Linked DNA regions of Homo sapiens: all the other regions are linked to region 1. Evidence: promoter capture Hi-C in human tissues and cell types (Jung and others, 2019). All regions are on one chromosome and are shown on one strand. The core of a region is centred on a gene start or on the middle of the fragment in contact, and the rest is flanking DNA. Distances in the headings are between cores, read along the strand shown.

Region 1 (2,525 bases), core at 9-2,508:
GTGCTGGGCACGGCTCTTAAGACTTGGCCGTCTCCGTCGCCCCTCAGCCCACACCCCTAACAGCCATGTCCCATGTCCCTAACTATACCTGGGAAGGCGGTACCAAGGTCCCCTTCGTTTTCCAACCCCCAACCTCTCCAGGACTGGCTCAAGCGTGGGGCAGGGGCATTGCCTCTTCTCAGAAACCCAGCAGCATCTACACTCCCTGGGCCTCTACCTCCAGCCCGGGGGACCTTTACCTGGGCTAGGAGTGGGCACACCTGGCCTTCCCCTGCCACGACTTTCACGCTGGGTGGTCCCTCGGGATAGGAATTGGGAACTAAAACGCCCAGAATTGGCCTCATCTTCATACGGGATGGGCAAGGAGACGCGGGTTACGACAGAGGGGGAAGCCCTGGTCATTATTTCGAAAATACCTTCTCCTCCGCTACCCCCGCCTCCCCGGCACATTTCCCGCTTTCCCTGGAGGGCGGACCCAGATTTTCATCCCTCCAACTCCAACTCCTTCGGGCCTGAGCCAGCGCCTCAGATGGGGCTTCGCCTGGTCTAGGAGGGTCCGCAGGCCCCCGAGTCTCTGGGAGAACAGCCTCCGGCCACGCCGTGCGCTCTCGGTCGCAGACACAGGCGTCCCTGGGTCCCGCAGGATCCTGCCACCAGCCCGCGGGCCCCGCTGGCGGACCACGGGCGCTAGGCGTGGACTGTCCGGGCGGAGGAGGCGCCCCGGGGCAACTGGAGAACAACTTTGGGGGTCTGGGGTTCCAAGGAGAAGTTTGGGAACAGTCGGCGTTATGCGGACTTTTGCAGGCTGGGATGGGGTTTCCGGGCAGGTTTGGGGGAAAAAGGAAGGGGCCTAAGACCGCGCGCGGAAAGATGCCGTTATTTGGAGGCGCCGAAGCGGGCGGAGCCAGCCAGCAGGACTTCGCGCCGCCGCCGGGCCAGAGCGCTGAGGATCGGCGTTGCCAGGGACAACGCGTTCTGGGCGGAGCTGCTGCTGGGGCGGACCTGAGTCTGAAGAGGTGGGGGCGGAGCCTGGGGGGCTGAGCCAGAAGCGGAGTTGTGATTGGTGAAGACCACATGCTCGGGGTGGGGCCTGGGCTGGGGCGGTGTGGAGGTTGGGGCGGAGCTCTGGGGGGCGGGGCGGGGCGGGGGAGGGCCCGGAGCGCCGGAGCCGGAGGCGGAGACGTGGTTGGCGGGGACTGTGCGCCCTGGGAGGGGTCGGAGTCGGCGGGGGCGGAGCCGAGCGGGCGGGGAGGGTGCTGGGTCGCGCCTGGCCTGGGGCCGAGGCGGCGCGCGGCGCTGACAGCTGAGTCGGCTCGCGGCCTCCCGGCCCCCTCGGCGCCCGGCCCGACCCTGGCCTGGCCTGCCCTGCCCCGGAGCCATGAGCCCCGGGCTGCTGCTGCTCGGCAGCGCCGTCCTGCTCGCCTTCGGCCTCTGCTGCACCTTCGTGCACCGCGCTCGCAGCCGCTACGAGCACATCCCCGGGCCGCCGCGGCCCAGGTGAGCGGGGCTGGGGGCGGGGCCTGGCTGGGGTGCTGGGACTGGGGGCCTGGGGACAGCGTCTAAGCCGGCGTCCAGGCCGGGGGTCCGGCCTCGCCTAGTGCGCGCGGCCGCTGGGAGTCGGCGGCCCCGAGAGGGGCGCTAACTATTCTTAGTAACAAATTACTCACAGCCGCAGCAGCTGCTGGGCGCCCACCGCGCACAGCTGGGCCCCACAAACGTGATGGCAGCCACAGCCCTTTCAGGTAGGCGCTATTGTTAACCCATCGTTCAGACGAGGAGACTGAGGCGCTCAGAGGCGAAGTCACCTGCCCAAGGTCACACGGTTGGTAAGCCTAGATTTAAGCCCAGGTCAGCCTGCCTCCAAAGTGGGCGCTGTTAACTTTGGGACTTGGACAGGGTCAGCCTGGATTGGAGCACGCTGTACTTCAGTCATGTTTCCTTTTGCTTGTATTTCTGTTCTGGGACACCCCATTTGTCTTCTCCTTAGTACTTACAATTGCATTCTTGGTCCCCACCCCCACGCAACTTACACCCCCCTCAACTTGCCAACCCCCCCCCACCCCCAGCTTAGCTTTGTGAAGCTTAAATTAAATGTGTCATTTCCCTGCTCCAAGGGCTTCCCATCACTTGACAACTAAATGCAGTTCTAAATTAAGTCGGCTGCATGGCCCGCGAGGCCCCTGCCGAGCACTCAGAACCCACTCTGCAGCTTGCTCTTTCCTCTTGCTTTCTCACTACTGCCCCCAGCCTTTCTTCTCCCAGCCTCCCCCTCCCCCCGCCCCCCCCGCAGCTTCCCTCCCCCCGGGTCCTTTTCTCAAGCCTGGGCCTGGCGGGCTTCTTCCTCTGCTTGTCTCAAACAGGCCTTGCCCAGCACCTTGTGTAAAGACCACCCAGCCCCAGACTTCTCAGGGGCCATCACCTCTGAGGTTACCTTCTTTCCACCTGTTGACTGTCTGTTCACCTGTTGACTGTCTCCCCCTCTAGAATGTGAGCCCCGGGAGGACAGGGACACTCTGTGTTCGCTT
Region 2 (2,525 bases), core at 16-2,515, 510 kb after region 1:
CTCCCGCCAGGCCCCCTGGCCTGCCACGTGCTCCTTGCCGGCCTAGACTCACCCAGGCTGTGCCCTCTGCTCAGAACGACCTTTCCCCCCTTCCTCTCCCCCTCGCTTGCTCCGACTGTTCTTTGCAATCCCGGCTGGGGTTGGGTTAAGGGCCTTCTGGGGCTTCTTCATACCCTGTGCATCTTCCTCCTACTGGCACCGACCACCCCACACTGGGCTGCCATCTGCTTGTCTACACCCACTGACTTTTCATCTCTGTATCTCCCCAGTAAGCAGGAGTGGCTCACAGAAGGCACGTTAATACCTGTGTGTTAATATAAACCAAGGAGCGGGACGATAGCTAGGAAGTAACATCCCTGGGCATCATCTGAGTACCAGGCCCCCTGCCAGGTACTTTAGAGGCTACTTGATGTTCAGGCCCATGGCAGCCCTGGGAGGGAGGCACAAAGGCTCTTTTGTTCCTGGGGAGTCAGTGGAGGCCCCTAGAGGCTGAATGACTGTCTGGGTCCCCCAGCTGGACTGTTTGGGGACAGGCCTGGGGAGCTGAGGGCACCCTCATACCAGGCAGCCTTGCGCCTGAAGCTCTGCTGGTGAAAACTGATGGGCAGGGCCCTGGAAGGGAGAGTCAGCGCCTGCGGGGGCGGGGGTGGGGGTGGGGGTGGGAAGGCAAGCGGAGGGGAAAGGTGAGCATAGACAGGCATTTGTGATGGCCACAGGCCTTCACTGCTACCCTGACATCAGGGCCAATGGCAACCTGCAAGGCCCTTCAAAGCCCTGCTTCCACCTCTGCCCATCTCTGGCTGCAACCTCCTGGTTCTCCCACCCTGTGCTCTATTCTCCAGCTACACTGACCCATGTCAGCTCCCAGGCCATGCATCTGGGCCTTTCACATGCTGCTCTCTCCAGGGTCCATCCAGCCCCACCTCCACCACATTGCCAAGACCAGGCCTTACTTTCCAGACTCCATGTACTTCTCAGCACTGGCCCCACCATTTGTGCTGAGGATCATCAGCTACTGAGACCTGAATTCAACCCCAGGCCCTGGGTTTGAATTCTGACACATTTGTGGCTGACCTTGGAGAACAGCTCATCCATGGGCTCGCAAAACAATGCCGCTGACTTAGACAACACTCTACTGATTTGCTGGCACTGGGCTGGGGCTTTGGTGGACACTGAATCCCCACAAACCAGCCTGCAAGGTCAGACATGTGAAAAGTCCTTTCTGTTTCATCAAGGCTCATCAGGTGAACGTCTCCAACAGGCTCTCACTTCAGCAACATTTCATAGCAGAAGGTGATCTGTCTTCAAGGTTGGAGGCTGGTCCCATAGACCCCAACTCCAGCATCAGGCCAAGGGCTGGGCAAGGCTGCAGGGTTGTGGCTATCCCAAATATGAACTCAGACACACTTAGTTCTGAATCCTGTGTTACCTTGGGCGAATTACTTCACCTCTTTGATCCTTCATTTTCTTCCTTTTTTCTTTTTTGCTTTAGCTTTTCTTTTCAATAAAATTAATAACACGTACATATTTTTAACAGACAAATAGAACTACAAGGCTTACAATGAAAAAAGGCAGTCCCTTGCCTTGCTTTGCCCACCCTGGGTCCTCCCCAAAGAGGCAGCCACTTTGTACTCCTCTAGATGTTTCTTCAGGTTCTCACCTCCATATGTGGAAGTGACAGGTTTACACAGTACTAATGGTTACTGATTTTTTCACATTGAGGTATTATCTAATCACTGCCTACCACTGAGAGGTGAGGGCTTAAATAAACCTTCACATAGGCCAGGCTCACACCTGTAATCCTAGCACTTTGGGAGGCCAAGGCGGGTGGATCACTTGAGGTCAGGAGTTCGAAATGAGCCTGGCCAACATGGTGAAACCCTGTCTCTACTAAAAATACAAAAAAAATTAGCTGGGCATGCTGGGCGCAGTGGCTCAGGCCTGTAATCCCAGCACTCTGGGAGGCCGAGGCGGGCGGATCACCTGAGGTTGGGAGTTCGAGACCACCCTGACCAACATGGAGAAACCCCATCTCTACTAAAAATACAAAAAAAATTAGCCGGGTGTGGTGGCACATGCCTGTAATCCCAGCTACTTGGGAGGCTGAGGCAGGAGAATGGCTTGAACCTGGGAGGCAGAGGTTGCGGTGAGGCGGAGGTTGCGGTGAGCCAGAGATCACGCCATTGCACTCCAGCCTGGGCAACAAGAGTGAAACTCCATCTAAAAAAAAAAAAAAAAATTAGCTGGGCATCGTGGCAGGCTCCTGTAATCCCAGCTACTTGGGAGGCTGAGGCAAGGGAATCACTTGAACCCAGGAAGCAGAGGCTGCAGTGAGCCGAGATCATACCACTGCACTCCAGCCTGGGCAACAGAGCAAGACTGCATCTCAAAAAAAAGAAAAAAAAAAAGCCTTCAAGTACCTACACGTTTCCTTGCCTCGTCTACCACCTCTTAGACTCTGATCTGTAACCTGTATGCTCTCCTTGGGCCAGTGTGAGGATGAAATGACCTCCTGGATACTTGGA
Region 3 (2,525 bases), core at 8-2,507, 360 kb after region 1:
TTTTTTTTTTACCTGACCCCAGTTTCTTCAGGAAGCCGTTAAACCTAGGACAGAAACTGTCCTTGGGTTTAATCTGAAAACAATCAGAGCCCTGCAAGTCCTTTGATCCAGTCTCTTACCTAAAGTAGACGGGCGCTATAGTTACCATTGGCTAGATGGCCAATGGCAAACCAAAATAGTTTTCCTGTAGCTTCCCCCTCTGAAAGCAGGAAGCATAGCCTATCTATCTCTGGACTCCCTGTACCCAAGCACAGAGCCTGGTTCTAGTCATTGGGCAGAATCGTCTCCCTAGGGATCACACAGAAGGATCCGTTCTTTCCACTGAGCTCCGTTGCACAGGTCCAGAGCCAGAGCTCACACTCTCTTTCCATTGCTCCGGGACAGACAGCCCTGCTTTCCTCAGCCAGTTGTCAGATGTTATGATTTCTATTTGCCTTATTATCTTAGTTGCCGTCAAGGAATGCTTCCAGGTTGGCAGTGCCTTGCTTATATTGTAATATCAAAAACTGATCTAAATATTTCATTTGTGTAGCCTGGGTTACACATTCTGCAACCTATATCACGGAATAAACCAGGTACCCAACCACTGTTCATTATTCAGATTGTGAGTTAGCCTGGTGTTTTTACAAGTTACCCTACAGAGAGCTTGGACACGTGGGTAGAAAGTCCAGAAATAGGTCCCGACAAAAATGCCAAGTGATGTTTGACAAAGGTAAAAAGTCCGTTCAGTGAGAAAGTATAGCCTTTTCAGCAAATGGTACTGGAACAATTGGACACCCTTATGCAAAAAGAAGTGAATTTTGGCCTAATCCTCACATGTTATACAAAAGTTACTTCAAAGTGGTTCATAAATCTGAATATAAAATCTAAAACTATAAAACTTGTGGAAGAAAACTTGAGACAATCTTCATGACCTGGGATTTAGGGAAGAGGTTCTTAGACATGACAGCGAAAGCACCATCCATAAAAGAAAAAGGATAAATTGGACTTCATCAAATTAAATTTCATCAAAAAGATAAATTTTGACTTCATCAGAATTAAAAACTATTATTCTGTGAAGGATACTTTTATAAGAATGAAAAGACGAGAGACAGACTTGGAGAAAATATTTACAAATACAAAGGGCTTGTCTTTGGAATATATAAAGAACTCTCAAAACTTAACTATAAGAAAGTAACCCAGTTTTTTCAACTGGGCAAAAGACAGACACTTCACCAAAGAGGATATACAGATGGCAAATAAGCACGAGAGAAGATGCATGACATCATTAATCATTAGAGAAATGTAGGTTAAAATTAGGATATCATATGCACTTACTAGAGTGACTAAGATGAAATACTGACAGTGCCTTGGGGGTGCAGAGCAGCAACTCTCCTACACTGCCAGAAGGAATACAAAATGGCACAGCTACTCTGGAAAGCAGTTTGGCAGTTCCTTATAAAGTTTTACATACAGTTAACATATAACCCAGCAATCCTACATAGTCAGCCTATGGAAATGAAAGCTTACGTTCGTGACCATTGCCAAAAACTGTGAACAGCCCAAATGTCCTTTGATTAAATGGATAAACAACTTGTAATACGTCCATACAACAGAACACTACTCTGCAAAAAAACAAACAAAAAAAACACTAATTATTAACTAACACAACAGCTCGGATGAATCTCAAAGCATTACACTGAATAAAGGAGGCCTATTAAGTCATAAAATGTTACACGTTGTATGATTCTATTAACATGACATTTTCCTAAAGACAAAACTGTTGAGATGGAGAACAGATCAGTGGTTGCTGGGAATTGGTGGGGGCGGATATGACTACAAAGGGAGAGCTGAGGGAGCTTGGGAGTGATGGCACTCTTCTGCCTTCTGATTGTGGTGGTGGTTACACCACCAATCTATGTAGGTGTTACATTCATGGAAATGAAATAAAAGCAAAACCAAACCAAGCAAAAAGGTCTGAGAAACAAAAACTCCAGTAATTTAAGTGGTGAAGTAGTTTTGCATTATTATGTTCCTTTGGATTTATTTGATTTGTAATTAACCAAATCTAGCTAATGTGTCCTATTTTTCTTTAAATGTTCCTTAAAACCATTGGAAATCATTGATAGGAAGCAGAAGGTTTGGAAACATATAGCTTGGGAAATAAACAGTTCTCAGGTCAAGTTCATAGGCTTGCCTCAAAGCGTGTGAGTGTAGTTCAAGTTCAAGGAATTGCCTGGAAGCCAAAGAGCACATGTACTGCAACTGTGTATTCTAGGGAGGCCTTTTTTGTCAGCAGCGCCCTTGCTTCATTTTATGTCATTGTACTCTCTGGACAGCTGAAATAACTTGAGAATTATCACCCTGGATGCAGTCCTTTATACTGAGTATTGTTTCTGATGTGAGTCAGAATGTGGGATGGTTTTCTTCAACAGTCTCAAAATTCTCCTGTTACTTCATAACCCAGTTGGAAGCATTTATATTTTCAGTCTGCATTTGGGGCATTTTTAAACAATATCTTTATTGAGATATAATATACATACCAT

What was found. Contacts are between HindIII fragments. The study calls those that stand out against the background at their distance.
Region 2: a contact is called between a fragment that was not itself captured here and the fragment with the promoter of CYP46A1 in region 1, in 1 of the 25 tissues and cell types used here (lymphoblastoid cells).
Region 3: a contact is called between a fragment that was not itself captured here and the fragment with the promoter of CYP46A1 in region 1, in 2 of the 25 tissues and cell types used here (IMR-90 fibroblasts and lymphoblastoid cells).

What each region holds. Positions count from the first base shown.
Region 1 is chr14:99,683,040-99,685,564 of GRCh38, forward strand. It overlaps CYP46A1 (cytochrome P450 family 46 subfamily A member 1), which reads left to right and starts at 1,259. Exons shown (of 15, transcript NM_006668.2): 1 at 1,259-1,497. The coding sequence starts at 1,379. RefSeq lists a silencer at 1,064-1,643. The HindIII fragment of the contact is 8,159 bases long and covers 1-2,525 here.
Region 2 is chr14:100,193,316-100,195,840 of GRCh38, forward strand. No RefSeq gene overlaps it. Among named protein-coding and RNA genes, the nearest start is that of DEGS2, 35 kb to the left of the region's middle. RefSeq lists a silencer at 457-546. The HindIII fragment of the contact is 8,266 bases long and covers 1-2,525 here.
Region 3 is chr14:100,047,136-100,049,660 of GRCh38, forward strand. It overlaps LOC124903379 (a long non-coding RNA gene), which reads right to left. Exons shown (of 2, transcript XR_007064329.1): 2 at 1-2,525. It also overlaps a transcript of EVL not described here. Among named protein-coding and RNA genes, the nearest start is that of EVL, 17 kb to the right of the region's middle. The HindIII fragment of the contact is 6,293 bases long and covers 1-2,525 here.